Linked DNA regions of Homo sapiens: all the other regions are linked to region 3. The links are contacts of gene promoters, found by promoter capture Hi-C in blood cells and fetal thymus (Javierre and others, 2016). All regions are on one chromosome and are shown on one strand. Each heading gives the region's core, a stretch centred on a gene start or on the middle of the fragment in contact. The rest is flanking DNA. Distances are from core to core; before and after follow the strand shown. Region 1 overlaps ERCC4 (ERCC excision repair 4, endonuclease catalytic subunit). Region 2 overlaps MRTFB (myocardin related transcription factor B). Region 3 holds the start of PARN (poly(A)-specific ribonuclease).

Region 1 (5,027 bases), core at 2,040-4,539, 690 kb before region 3:
CCAGTGTAGATCTCAGCACATACTTCCTTTTTCTCTTCCCCGTCTCTTCCTTCATCTCCAGTTGCTTTTCAGTGGTTTGTTTAATAGAATATTAGAAATGTGACAAAGACAACTGCTTTTTTGTTTGTGAAGCAGTATGATAAAACACGAGAAATATAGCTAAAATACTGCTTTTCTAAGAAATACATTAGTAAATCTCCCTCCTCCCTGCCTTATGCACAATATGTCCTTGGGTGGGTGGCTGCTTTACCGTTTATTGGGAAATGCTTTTACAACACAGCCAATTATGATCACCATCAATAGAATCACTCTGGGAAAATATTTCTTAGGAAGTGTGTTGTTTGTCTGGACATACACGTGTATGTTTTTAAGAATGAGTATCTGGTACTATTCCAAATCCAAGTAGAAAATGCCCTTCCATTTTACGAAAGGAAAATGGTGAGATGTTCACAAACTGGTTGGCTACCTCTTGCCCTGAAGGCATTCGATAAATCTGATAACCACCTACCAGGGATATTGTCAAGAAGATTGCAGCCTGGTGTGGGAAGATGGGCCAGATAATCTCTAAGGGCCTCAGAAGCCAGGGCAAGTGCTGGATGGGGCATCACAGAGCTGAGCCAGAGAAAGTTAGATCAGCAGAGACCATGGCCTGGACGGAGTGGGCTGGGCCAGAGCAAACTTCCAAGCCTCAGACATTGGCAATGGAGGGCAGAAATTATTTTTAGCAGTAGTCAACCTGCGAGGACTGCCAAGACCCTAGGCCAAATTTCAAAATGGATAACCATTCTGCAGTGGTGGCTGCGGGTTCTCAGTGTATGTGCAAAATATACATATAACCTGGATAGCCCAGGAGAAGAATTCTTGGAAATGGGGGTATTTGCTGAATCAGTGGCATGGAGTCCCACGATGGGGGTCAGCATGGTGCATGGGCGGTCCCCTCTTTTCCCTTCACATCCTCTCGAATGGTGATATGCCTTGGCCATGGATTCATCCAGCTGCTAGTCATACAAGTATTGCTCAGTCCTCTCAGCCTATGAAAATATGTTTCCTACCAGTGTGCTCTATGGGATTGTTTATGTCGTATATGTGGGTATATATATTTTTCAAAAACCTAGTTCAGAAATCGTGTTATAACAGACCAGGCATTATACCAGCCGCCTCTTGTTCCAGGCTCTTTGCTCCTCTCTGTCTTACTCTTTGTCTGCTAGACCTTCACGCCACAAGGCTCAAAGAGTAAACAGGTATTTATTAAGCATCTGGTATGTGCCAGGCCCTGTGCTAATATTAAAGTGCTGAGGTTACAAGTGGTGCAGAAAAAGCCTCTGCCCTCCTGGAACTTACCCTTTAGTGGAAAAGACAGACATTAAATTATTATAAATATTGTAATAAGTAGAGGTATACAGAGCACCGCTGGCTGCAAAGGTAAAAGAAGAGGGTGTAATAGGAGAGTACATCAAAGACCTCACCCAGACCACAAGCTGATCGGGAGCCGCTTCCCTGAGGAAATGATATTCAAGCTGATACTAGGCAGATGGGGTGGAAAGGGGGTTATGTTGAACAAAGGCGTGCACGAAGGCTCCCAGGTACAAGAGGCCCTGTAAAGGATTTAGGGCTTCACGGGCAGTAAGACCGCACTGAAGCATTCTAAGTAGGAAAGGGACTTAGGTATGTTTGTAAAGGCTTTCTCTGGCATCAAGCTGAGGAGTGAGTGAGGGTGGAAACCAGTCAGAATGCTAGTGCAGTCTGATGGGAGAAGGTGGTAGCCAAGATTAGGTTAATGGAGGAAAGAAGACAGATTTGAGAGAGATTTGGGAGATAGAATCAAAGAATTGGTGATACTGGATGTGGGCCAGTACCTCCTGACCATTCCTTCACTCTTTTTAGAACAGCCTTTGCCCAAGTTTTCGCTCATTAAAATAATTGTCACCTAGATAGAAATGAGTGCACAGAGCTAAAATACTCAGATTGGGTTTTCAGTGTTCATGTCAGGGTTCCCCAAGATCATCCTCAGGCTCGATGATTCACTAGAACTCACATGAGTCAGAAAAGGTGTTATACTCACAATACAGTTTCTTCCAGCAAAAGGATACAGATTAAGACTGGATGCAGTGGCTCACGCCTGTAATCCCAGCACTTTTGGGAGGCCAAGGCGGGCAGATCACTTGAAGTCAGGAGTTCACGACCAGCCTGGCCAACATGGTGAAACCCTGCCTCTACTAAAAATGCAAAAATTAGCCAGGAGTGGTGGCGCATGCCTGTAATCCCAGCTACCCGGGAGGCTAAGGTGGGAGAATCACTCAAACCCCAGGAGGTGGAGGTTGCAGTGAGCTTAGATCGTGCCACTGCACTCCAGCCTGGGCAACCGAGTGACCCCCGTCTCAAAAAAAAAAAAGAAAAAAAAGATTAAAATCAGCAAAGGGAAAAGGCACATGGGGCAAAGTCCAGGTAAAACCAGGCCTAAGCTTCCAGGTGTCCTCTCCCAGTGGAGTCACATGGATGTGCTGAGTCCTCCCAGCAACAGTGTGTGACCACACATGCAAAGTGTTGTCAACAGGGAAACTCACCTGAGCCTTGAGTCCCCACATTTTTACTGAGCTGAGTCACATAGACACAGAGTACCTCCATGGCTGGCTACAGCTCCTCAGACTCCAGCCCCCAAAGCAGCAACAGACATTTACGATAAATCACATCGTCAGCATAAACTATCTGATCCAGCTGGCACATTGTGACCCAAGGCCTCAGGCATATAAAAACCTTATCAGGGAGAATACTCCAGGGGCTCAGAGCTCATCTCCCAGGAGCTGACCAAGAGCCAGTGTTGAGGAGAGAAGCCTTTCTTGGAAACATGCAGAGTTTGAGCAGCCCAGGCCTGCTGAGTTAATCCTTTCCTGCACAGCGTTAGAGCCAGAGGAGCCTGATAGAATGGGAGGAAGACAGCACCTGAGTAGGTGAGTTTCTTGCTTCGCCTGTCTTCATGCAGCTGCCTCTTCTCCAGTGCATCAGGGAATCTAATCTAGAAAAGAGCACTTTTAGTAGATAGTAGTAAGGTACCAGATCCCATGCCATTCCTGATTTATGCACCTGCTTCTACACATCAAAGGACTCAGTGACAAGATGTGGATTAGCCTTATACATACTGGAAAACCTCACTCAGCAGAACCTGGATCATGGACTCTCTCCCACATTTCAATCCATAGAAAAATTTCTGCACCAGGTTTTAACATAATTTTATCTGTTATCTGGCATAATTTTTAATGCTTTCAATGATGATTGTCTACTTGTCATAAATAAGATCTTCCCATTTTACCCAGCAGTCAATCAGATAGTTGCACTGTTAAGAATCTTAAGATACTTACTTTCCCAGGAAACTTGGGAAATTTGAGAGGTGCTTCTTTTGCAAAGCAAAAACATATTTGAGGTGCATTGTTCAAAAAACATTTGCACTGTGTACTTAAGAGAAAAATTTAATATGAAGATGAGACAATGTGCTTTTACCAAGACCTCCATGGGTGATGTTGTAAGAACAAAAGCAGTTGTGGCTCTTTAACCAGAAAGGAACAAATCAGGTGAACTGACAGTGAAAGGATTGTTTAGCTGGATTAAAGATCTGTAGATTATAGATAACAGATAAAGTGGAAAAGATTACACTGCTAAATATCATAATAATTTTATTTCTACCCAGGGACGTAAAATGCTCCCTGGGTAGAAAACTTAGTAATAACATCCTCAGTATACATAGCTTTGAGGAGGTCACTGCTTTTCAAAGGAAAGGGTAAGATTATTTGAAATTTTACTTTTTGAAAATACGATCACAAAATGGGCTAGCATGAGGGCTTAAGTAAATGCCCATTGGAAGAGACTTCTAGTTCAGTGCTACTTTCCTATGTTGCCATAGGATTATGTTGTACACGGTATTCAAATAACATTGAAGACTGGGTGCAGTGGCTCACGCCTGTAATCCCAGCACCTTGGAAGGCCAAGGCGAGAGGATCACTTGAGCCCAGGAGCTCAAGACCACCATGGGCAACATGTGAGAATCCATCTCAATTTGTTTAAAAATTAAAATAAAATAAATTTTAATAAAAATACCATTGAAGATACTAAAGCAAACATAGGAAAGCTTGGTGCTTTAAGCAGAAATAGGAATCTGAATTTTTTAATTGTTTTGTGTCTGTCACATAGGGGAACTTGGATAATTATGCCACATGTTGAAAGCAAGAGACTGGCTGTTTATAATTACGATACATTTCTGTTAAACTGAATTACTGCTTAGGAAGGCTTATTTTCTTCATAGTCCAGGTTTCATCTCGAATATATTTTTTCTCACATTCGACTTGTAGTTAAGTTATAACATTTAGTGGTAAACTAGCTGTTTTCTGTAGCTATTAATGGAAACAATTGTGGAATTATTTGAAAGCAAATCTTCAGTTTTTTAGTATAATCATGGATAATTAGACGAAGAGATTACCACGTTATAAGAAAAGTACAGTAATAATAACACCTAACATTTATATAGTGCTTACTAGGTGCCAGGCACTGTTCTGAGCGCCTTGCATATGTTATGTAATCCTCATAACAGTCTTTTGAGGTAAGTTTTTAAATTATTATCCTCATTTTACCAATAAAGAAGTTGAAGTACAGAGCCATGAAATGACTTGCCTAAGGTCACGTGGCCAGTAAATGGTTTCAGATCCACACACTTTGGAACCGGAATCTGTACTCTAACCCCCTAAGATTATACAGACTACAAATTAATCAGGAAATTGGGATGATCCCATGTGTGATATACAGCTTAGCCAGTGTAACAAGTAGAAACAAAGTGGGGGACACAACATAATAATACCAAATGAATGTTAAGGAAAAATAGAAGAGCAGTAATTTTTTTGAATGGTCTGCCCTTTGTCCTAACCAGAGTGCAATAGAGAGAATGGAGTGGTAATGAGTGGCAGCCAGAGCCATTGCCATTGCAGAGGGCTTTTCAGCAGGTAGCGCTTGAGTCTGGTATTGAGAATAATGAGAAAAACATG
Region 2 (4,563 bases), core at 2,061-4,560, 550 kb before region 3:
TTGGTTAAAAAAAATTAGGAGGAGCTATTTCAAACAAGAGCAAGCCTGGGCAATATAGCGAGATCCCACCTGTACAAAAAAAGAAAAAATTAGCGTGGTGTGGTGGCGCACACCTGTAGTCTCAGCTGCTTGGGAGGCTGAGGTGAGGGGATCTCTTGAGCCCAGGAGTTAAAGGCTGCAGTGAGCTGTGATTGCACCACTGCCCTCCAGCCTGGGCTACAGAGTGAGGCCGCTACTTCAGGGAAAGAGCAGAGATACAGACGGAGGTTGGGAAAAACACCTAGGTTGGCATAACCTGTTTCTTGCGAATTAAAGAGAGAAACAACCTAGATTGAACTAGGGATAACATGGCAAGACAAATAACAGACTGTCTCAATAAATACGTAAATATTAGCACAAGCCCTCCATGGATCCATATTTTTAAACTATATTGTAGAATTTTTTGTGTCACACACTCGAAGGGACAATACTGGCTTCCTAACAATTACCATTGGTAATAATTAATAAAATATTAACAAGGTTGAAAATTTTTGGTTCAATATCAGTATCTCACTTGTTTGTATATGCTCAGTATTCTGATACTACAATTGTATGTTAACGGTGTGTGGTGTGAGGAAACGATCGCTAATGTTTAGACAGTTTTCCCTTACTCTATTTAAGCTTCCCTTGCTACTTTCTCCTACATTACTGGAGTTTCCCTGCAATTTCTTATAAAAACTTTTAAATATTGTAAAGTAATGCCAGTTTATAGTGGGCTTAATCTGCCCGTTCATTTGAAAGACTCTCGTACCAGGCGAATCTTCATTATACAGATCTGTCCCACCTATGTGTTGTGTGAAGTCTTTTAGATCCAGGCCCCCCAAACCCTAAATGCCAGCGGTGTCCCCCAGTCTCTTTGATAACTAAAAATGTTCCTTGGGGGCAGTTCCAGCTCCTTGGAGAACCACTCCAAACATCAGTGTTATCTAGTCAATTATAATAGGAATTATAAAAGGAAATTTAACAGACAGTTTTTGCTGAGAGTTTTGTCCTGTTTTGTTTTTTCTTTCTTTCAGAAGTGTCTGACGTACAAAAAGCATGCTTTTGGTTAGTGGCGCTTTCATTGATTATTCTAGAATCTCAGATGGGAGGTCAGGTTAGTACCTGTGTCCCTCTGTCTGAAAGATTGGCTGTGTTTAATGGAAATGTTGACAACTAAACACTTGAATCAAGTAGCAGATTGAGGTTAGAATGGAGTTGGGAAGCAACAACAATAATGTGTAGAAATAAGTCTTAGTTAAGTATAATCTAAACTAGTGTAATCACCCTTTAAATAGCTTCTTCTGCTTACTAATATCTATATTAGAGAATTTGGAAAATGCAGATGTATTCAAAGGTAAAACTTAAAATTACCTGTAATCACATATGCCAGTAGTCCTCATGGTGTGATTTGTTAGCAGTTGTCTTTTCATTTCAAACTTTGCTAGTCTTGCTGCATAGGGGAAAATGCAAATCGAGTTAAGAAAGTTCAGCTCAGACCATTTATATGTTACCTACGTATAACATTTATATATGTTACAATGTTACCTACATTGTAACATTATACATTTAACTCTTCTTTTAATAATAGTTTATTTGGCTTTTTTTTGTTGAATAGACGAGTTGCTTCTTGATGTAAGGTGTTTATTATTAGTTGCGTGTTACGTTTGAAAGGTGCTATGGAAACAGACATGTAGGTAATGACTGCTGTCAAAACAGAAGGCTATACTTTAAATTATCTAGAGTTAGAGACATTGAACACTTTGGAGATGGAAATTTATCCAAATTGAGAGTAATGAATTTATATTAATTTGAGCAAGCAGTATCTTGTTCCAGGGTAAAAGAGGTCATTACTGGTTTTTAAAATCAGAACTTTAAAAAATATTCACCTGTATGTAAAAGATGTTGATTGAAAATGTTCCATTTTTCTAGGCATAGGGGATAGATTGTTGAATGGACAAAAGTTCATGCTTTTATGAAGTTTTACATTTGAGAGACACAAATGTTAACTAGAAAATGAATACTATGCACATATCTCTGATTTGTAATTAAGGTGTTTCATTGATTTTTAAGATGCATATGTGAGATAGAATGACATCTTAAAATTAGCATGTGGTTGGCAACTTTTCTTTCTTAGTAGGACATTATATCTTGAAATTGATGGCATCTTAGAGTCAATGAAATAGGGAATATGTAAAAATTATTACATAATTTTACTACATGAATAGGGAATATGAAACAATGATTAATGATTAACACCAAAAACTTGATTCAAAGGGTGACTTGCAAAATGAAGATACACAATATTTCTGGACCCTTCCATTTAAACTAGAATTCTTTACTAAGAAGATTCCTGTAGAGATTTTCCCTTTATGTAAAACAAATGGAGAATCAATGTTTGTAAATATAAGAACCATTTTTTTGAAAATGTTTAAAAGGAAACAAACTGCTTGGTGAATTTTCACGAAGAGCAGATGGTGTGGTTAGTGTGTTTGAGGTAAAGTTAATCAGATAATATAACCAGACAGTTGTATGAATATGGTTTTTTGTGTTTTTTGTTTGTTTCCATTCTGGAAGATCCACTTATAAATGAAAGTTTTCTCAAATGGGACGTCCTTAAATTGGATCTCAGTGAATTATAGTTGTTATTGTTGTTTAAGAAATATATTTGAAAACATACTTACTCTGTGTGAAGTACACAGTTTATATGGGAAGCTAGTTCCGTGGTATACCTTAGCTGGAGACCTGTGTAAGGACTTTTTCTGTCTAATATTGAGTGCAGGTTTCACAGCAAACTCAATCACGTGAAGACCCTTTGCGTACCTTCTTCCTCAGGTGGACTTGTGCTTTGCGTCTTAAAGTGTGGTGCCCACACCATCAGCACGTCAGCAGCATCCTGGAGCTTGTTTGAAATGTAGACTCTGAGCTCCACTCCAGACCAACTGGACCAGAATTTGCATTTTAAAAGATCCCTTCCTGGGCAATGCACGTGAACATATAAAAATCACGGGACCAGATCTGTGGCTGTCAAACTTGAGTATGTATTAAAAGGATTGCTAGCCTCCTCCTCCAGGGTCTCTCTCTGATTCAGTAGGTCTGGGCTGGGCCCATAGAATTTACATTGTTAACAAATTATCAGGTGATGCTGATGCTGCTGGTCCAAGGACCATACTTTGAGAACCATTAGAGTAGAGCTCCTTCTCTTCTCACCTTTTTCTGTTCTCTCTTCTAATTCCTCACCCCGGCTTTTTAAAATAGATTATTATAATCATATACTTTGGCTCGATTGGAGGAAACAAAAGCACTTTGTCTTATAATTTATGGTGATGGCCACACTAAAATTGCTTGTCACCAATTTCAGAGAAAACTTAGACTCTGGTTTGTAGGTGGTTCTCTTTTGCTTCTTTTTGCGAGGTGCTTTTAACATTTACAAATTGTTTTCATGTAGATAAGATGTTCATATGGTTCAAAAATTAAAATGACATAAGACATATTTTGAGAAATCTAAATTCCAATTGTCTTGATTCTCTCCATAAATAACCTTTCATTTGTTTCCTATACATGTCTTTTTTTTGTATAGATGCAGATACAAGCAAATACTAATATACTATATATACTCTTTTTATATAAAATATACATACTATGTGAATATTTTCCTTGCTTTTTTTTTAAAGTTAATATTATCTTGACATACCTTCATATTAGTATATAGGAAACATTTTTCTACACTTCTTTTCTTTTTTTTGAGACAGAATCTCACTCTGTCACCCAGGCTGGAGTGCAGTGGCACCATCTCAGCTCACTGTAACCTCCATCTCTCAGGTTCAAGCGATTCTCCTGCCTCAGCCTCCCAAGTAGCTTGGGACTACAGGTGCATGTGCCACCAGGCCCGGATAATTTTTGTATTTTTAGTAGAGATGGCGTTTCTCCATGTTAGCCAGGCTGGTCTCAAACTCCTGACCTCAGGTTATCCACCTGCATCGGCCTCCCAAAGGGCTGGGATTACAGGCATGAGCTACTGCACCTGGCCCAGAAAACATTTTTCTAAACAACTGTAAAATATACATTGTTTAGCTGTTTAGCCTCCAGTGATCAATATATGAGTTGTTTCCAGTCTGAGACTCACAAATGACGCTGTGCTGAATAACCTTGTGCACATATTATTTTGTATATTTGTAGGCATTATCTGTGGGATACATTCCTAGAGGTGGGATTGCTGGTCAGTGGGCAATGCATTTATAATTGGTGTAAATACTTTCTTCCTCCAGAGTGGCACTTATTTTGAACTTGCCTAAGTAATGTATGAGACTCCTTATTTCTCCGTAACCTCTCCAACAGTTAACCTTTGGATTCGTGTCAGTCTCGTAGATGAAAAATGATAACTCCATGTAGTTTTAATATGCATTGCTTTCATTATGAATCGGGGTGAGCATCTTTTCATGTGCCTAAAGGCTATTTGTATTCCTTTTTCTGTGAGCTATCTGTTCATACCCTTTGCACATTTTTCTTTTGGATTGCTTTTTCTTACTAATTTCTATAAGTGTA
Region 3 (4,662 bases), core at 1,193-3,692:
CTCTACAAAAGAATATGTAAAAATTAAAAAAAATAATAATAATTGGCTGGGCACAGTGGCTTGCGCCTGTAGTCCCAACTACTTGGGAGGCTGTGGCAGGAGAATCAGTTGAGCCAGGAGTTCAAGGCTCCACAGAGCAGTGATCACGCCACTGCACCCCAGCCTGGGTGACAGAGCGAGACCTTGTCTCTAAAACAAGACAAAACAAAAAAAAAAATCACTTCATGGCTAGGTTTGAGGAGAAAATACTGCACTTACAAAACCTTAATGCACAAGTTTAGTAACAATATTTATCATTTAACATAAGGAAGACTAACATGAGAAAGAAAAAGATTTCCTAGCACATCCACTTGCCTTTTTAAGCTTCTGATACCTCTCTTCTGGAGTGTCAAAACCATTTGTTAATGCAGAGACTGAAGGTCCATCACTGATTCCTAGATTTTAAGAAATAAAAATTTTTAGCTTACTAATAAATACTAACGTAAAAATGCCAGTCAATCATTCAGTGCCTCTATAATGTCGTATCACGAATTAAGGTTACTTGGAAGCACTCCCTAACTTACTTTTTTAAAATAAGCATTAATTTCAGTGGCCACCAGGTTAAACCCTCTAATAATGAACTTAGAGATGCGAATGTTTCAACATGAGAATAGGCAGTTCCAGCGTCTAAAACATGACTTAAAACACAGTAATCATGTAAGAAAACAATCTCTATGCTTGAATAAGTTTTGCTGCTTTAAAAGATTCCTGTATAAACAGACATCAATAAATCCCTAAGTATATTATTGCCAGAGTTCCAGTCTTGGTCAAGAGTTTGGAGTGGTTAATATCTATGCAAAGAATGTATCTTCAAGATTAAGAGAAAATTATTTCTCTAAGTGAAAACTCTTAGCTTCCTAGGGAAGTGATTCCAACTAGACACTACCTAAAGCCAAGGATACTATTTACCCCTGCATGGATTCCTTCATGATTCAAACATGGAAAATCAGACAGCAAAAATGGATATCCATATCAAAGGGAGTGAACCGTTCATATTGACATCAGCAATTTAAAAACTAGTCTTTGCTCCCCCTAAAAAAGGGGAAAAAAAATTTGCAACTTTAAGTGTCAGTGAAGTATTTCCTGTATACACACCTGTTGAGGCAGGCAATGAACACGTCCACTAATGCATAAAGAAATATCTCATTTATCTGCAAAAACCTGACCCTAGCCGGTCACAAAAGGGCAAATATTGTAAGATTCCACTTATATGAGATGTTAAGGGCAGTCAAATTCAGAGACAAATGGCGGTTGCTAAAGGCTGGGCGAAAGGAGAAATGGGGAGTTTAATGTGTAAAGAGTTTCAGACTGTGAAGATGAAGAAGTCCTAGAGATGGATGGTGATGTTTGCACAGCAATGTGAATGTACTTAATGCCACTTAACTGTAAAGCCACTTAAAATGGCAAATTTCATGTTATACCTATTTTACAATCAAGAAAAAAAACAGTCTGACCCTAATCCTCAAGCTCTCTGCAATGTACACGCCGCACTGTTTTAAGCAGCATCAAAACCATCATCTCTATCTGAGATCCTGAGTCCAATCACAAACCTACGGCGTATCTTCATTTCTTTCGTGCTTTTGAAACGTTTAAAGGGTAACACTGAGACCTGTGAAACCCGCCCAAGGCTACTAACAGCAAGAGGCCACCACCAAGCATAAGAAGTTGGGGGCTGGGGGATTGAAGGAGCCTTGGCTATGCACTGCAAAGTGCTAGCCTGAGCTTGCAAGGGAGGGATACCTGAAAACTCCCCATCGATGGCGAAGAAGTCGGCCTCCTCTATGGCCTGGTACACTTTGTGAAGATTACTCTTAAAATCTGCGGAGAAACCGAAAAGAGGCTCAGAACCAGTGGCCTGAATTCCTGCTAAGGGGAGAGGGAAGGAGGGCCGAGGAGCTCCCGAGGCTGAGAGCCGGAAGGGGAAAAGTCCCGGAGGTGTGCACCGGGGCGAGGGGAATCAAGTCCTCGAGGGGTGCATGGGTCAGGGGGGACAAGCCCCGGGGGGTGCCCGGCCCGGAGAAGGACAAGGCCCCGGATGGTGCCGGGGTTGGAGGAGTAAGTACAAGGCTCCTAGGGTGCACGGTCCGCAGCCGGAAAAGACCCCAAGAGGCGCACCGGCTTAAGGAGGGAAAAGCCCTGAGGGGCTGCCTCAGCCCCAGGCCCAGCCAAACACGCCGGCCATGGTCTCGGCCTAGCAGGCCAGGGGCAGCCGGGTGTGGGGAGGCGGGGAGGTGTACGGCGGACACGCACTGCTCCTGATTATCTCCATTCTGCAGAGTGGCCGGAACCTTGGCCCCACCCGGGCCCGCGCCCGCCTCAGCGGTTCTACTCGCCGAATTCCGCGGCGACTGCGGCAGTAGCTGAGGCAGCCGCAGCGGTGACGCCGGCCGCGACTTCCGGAAACAGCGCGCGCCTGCTGCGCTTGCGTCAGCGCCTGCGCGGCGGCGGGGGCGGGGCCAAGGCTGGGCTCCTTTCCCTCCTTATAGGGACAGGGGAGGGGCGTGGCTATCGAAGTCCCCAAGGCGTGGCCTAATTTGTGCGGGCTTTCACTTCAGTAGAAAAAATGTGCATGTCTCGACATCCAGTCGACCAGGAAATACTGACTGGGTTTCTGTGATATGCTAGCCACTCTTACAGGGGTGGAGATACAGTGATGAACAGGAAGACGTGCTCCCTGCCCCATTGTAGCTTAAACTTGGGGTAAGGGGAAATTCAGGCAGGAGTGAAACTTGCCATTTGGTAACACATGAAAATCGCTATTAAGAAAAAGAGCGGGGCGATGTAATAGAGAATAATGGGATCCGGGTGCGGTGGCTCACGCCTGTAAGCCTAACACTTTGGGAACCCGAGGCGGGAGGATCCGTTGAACTGAAGAGTTCGAGACCAGCCTGGACAGCATAGTGAGACCTGTCTCTTAAAAAAATAAAATTAGGCCGGACCCGGTGGCTTATGCCTGTAATCCCAGCACTTTGGAAGGCCGAGGCGGGCGGATCACGAGATCAGGAGTTCGAGACCAGCCTGGCCAACATAGTGAAACCCTGTCTCTACTAAAAATATAAAAATTGGCTGGGCTTGGTGACTCATGCCTGTAATCCTAGCGATTTGGGAGGCAGAAGCGGGCGGATTACCTGAGGTCAGAAGTTCAAGAGCAGCCTGGCCAACATGGTGAAACCCTGTCTCTATTAAAAATACAAAAAATTAGCCGGGTGCAGTGGTGCGCGCCTGTAATCCCAGCTATTCGGGAAGCTGAGGCAGGAGAATCTCTTGAACCTGGGAGGCGGAGGTTGCTGTGAACCGAGATCACGCCACTGCACTCCAGCCTGGGTGACAGAACGAGACTTGTTTTCAAAAAAAAAATTAAATTAAATTAAAAGAATAATAGGGGTTGTTACTTAGGTGATCACGGAAAGCAAAGCTGAGACCCTTAGCTACTGCATTAGCCTCTGGGAATACTATGTCGAGTGCAACATATGAGGCCCGGCCCTAATGGAATTGTATGTTGGTTTGGGGTTGCTGTTCTCCAATGCCTAGCACTGGGCTGACACGTAGTAGACACTCAATAAGCATGGGTTGAATGAATACATTCAGGTTGGTCTTTCACAAAAGCCAACTATGAAAAGTTGGTTAGTGCCGGATGCGATGGCTCACGCCTGTGATCCTGGCACTTTGGGAGGCCGAGGCAGGCGGATTGCTTGAGGCCAGGAGCTCGAGACCAGCCTGGGCAACACGGTGAAACCCCATCTCTACTAAAATACAAAGAATTAGCCTGGCGTGGTGGCGCACCCCTGTAGTCCCAGCTACTCGGGAGGCTGAGGCAGGAGAACTGCTTGAACCCGGGAGGCGGAGGTTGCAGTGAGCCAAGATTGTGCCACTGCACTCCAACCTGGGCGACAGAGCGAGACTCCGTCTCCAAAACAAACAAACGAACAAAAGGAAAGTTGATTAGAAGACCTATTTTCAAAATCTATCTCAGCCACTTATTAGTTCTGGAATGCATTAAACCTTCCTAAACCTCAATTTCCTGGGATTGTATTGAGGCTCAGTGGTGCTAATGAATGTGAACTGGGAAGCAGCGTATTAATAAATCTGTATAAATAACTGTTTAATGGGGGCCTGGCGCCATGACTCACACCTGTAATCCCAGCGTTTTCGGGGGCTGAGGCAGGAGAATCGCCTGAACCCAGGAGTTCCAGACCAGCCTGGGGAAAAGAGCGAGACCCTGTCTCCATAAAAATAAAATGAAATTTTAAAATGAGCCAGGCGTGGTTGTGCACGCCCGTAGTCCCAACTATTCACGAGGCTGAGGTGGGATAATCGCTTGAACCCGGGAGGCGGAGGTTGCAGTGAGCCAAGATCGTGCCACTGTACGCCAGCCTGGCGGGTGAGAGTGAGACTCTGTCTCAAAAACAAACAACAACAACAAAACAAAACCAAATAATCAGCATAAGTTCTAGACGCTGTGACCTAGACGCTGGGAAGGGGCGAAACGTGGTGATAAGAAAACCATTTCAAGCTGTACGAGGTGGCTCACGCCTGTAATCGCAGCACTTTGTAAGGCTGAGGCAGGAGGATCCCTTGACGCCATATGTTCAAGATCAGCCTGGAAAACGCAGCGAGACCCCA

Evidence for each region. Contacts are between HindIII fragments. The CHiCAGO score rates a contact against its expected background, and 5 or more counts as called.
Region 1: a contact is called between a fragment that was not itself captured here and the fragment with the promoter of PARN in region 3, in 1 of 17 cell types (M0 macrophages). The highest score is 6.1, in M0 macrophages.
Region 2: a contact is called between a fragment that was not itself captured here and the fragment with the promoter of PARN in region 3, in 3 of 17 cell types (fetal thymus, non-activated CD4 T cells and naive B cells). The highest score is 6.7, in fetal thymus.

The regions. Positions count from the first base shown.
Region 1 is chr16:13,938,007-13,943,033 of GRCh38, forward strand. All of the region lies in intron 9 of ERCC4 (ERCC excision repair 4, endonuclease catalytic subunit), which reads left to right. Among named protein-coding and RNA genes, the nearest start is that of ERCC4, 20 kb to the left of the region's middle. The HindIII fragment of the contact is 1,658 bases long and covers 2,461-4,118 here.
Region 2 is chr16:14,072,447-14,077,009 of GRCh38, forward strand. All of the region lies in intron 1 of MRTFB (myocardin related transcription factor B), which reads left to right. Among named protein-coding and RNA genes, the nearest start is that of MRTFB, 3.4 kb to the left of the region's middle. The HindIII fragment of the contact is 5,305 bases long and covers 659-4,563 here.
Region 3 is chr16:14,627,818-14,632,479 of GRCh38, forward strand. It overlaps PARN (poly(A)-specific ribonuclease), which reads right to left and starts at 2,443. Exons shown (of 24, transcript NM_002582.4): 1 at 2,290-2,443; 2 at 1,780-1,857; 3 at 355-434. The coding sequence starts at 2,308. RefSeq lists enhancers at 1,411-1,934, 1,935-2,456, 2,457-2,979, 4,579-4,662. The HindIII fragment of the contact is 4,468 bases long and covers 362-4,662 here.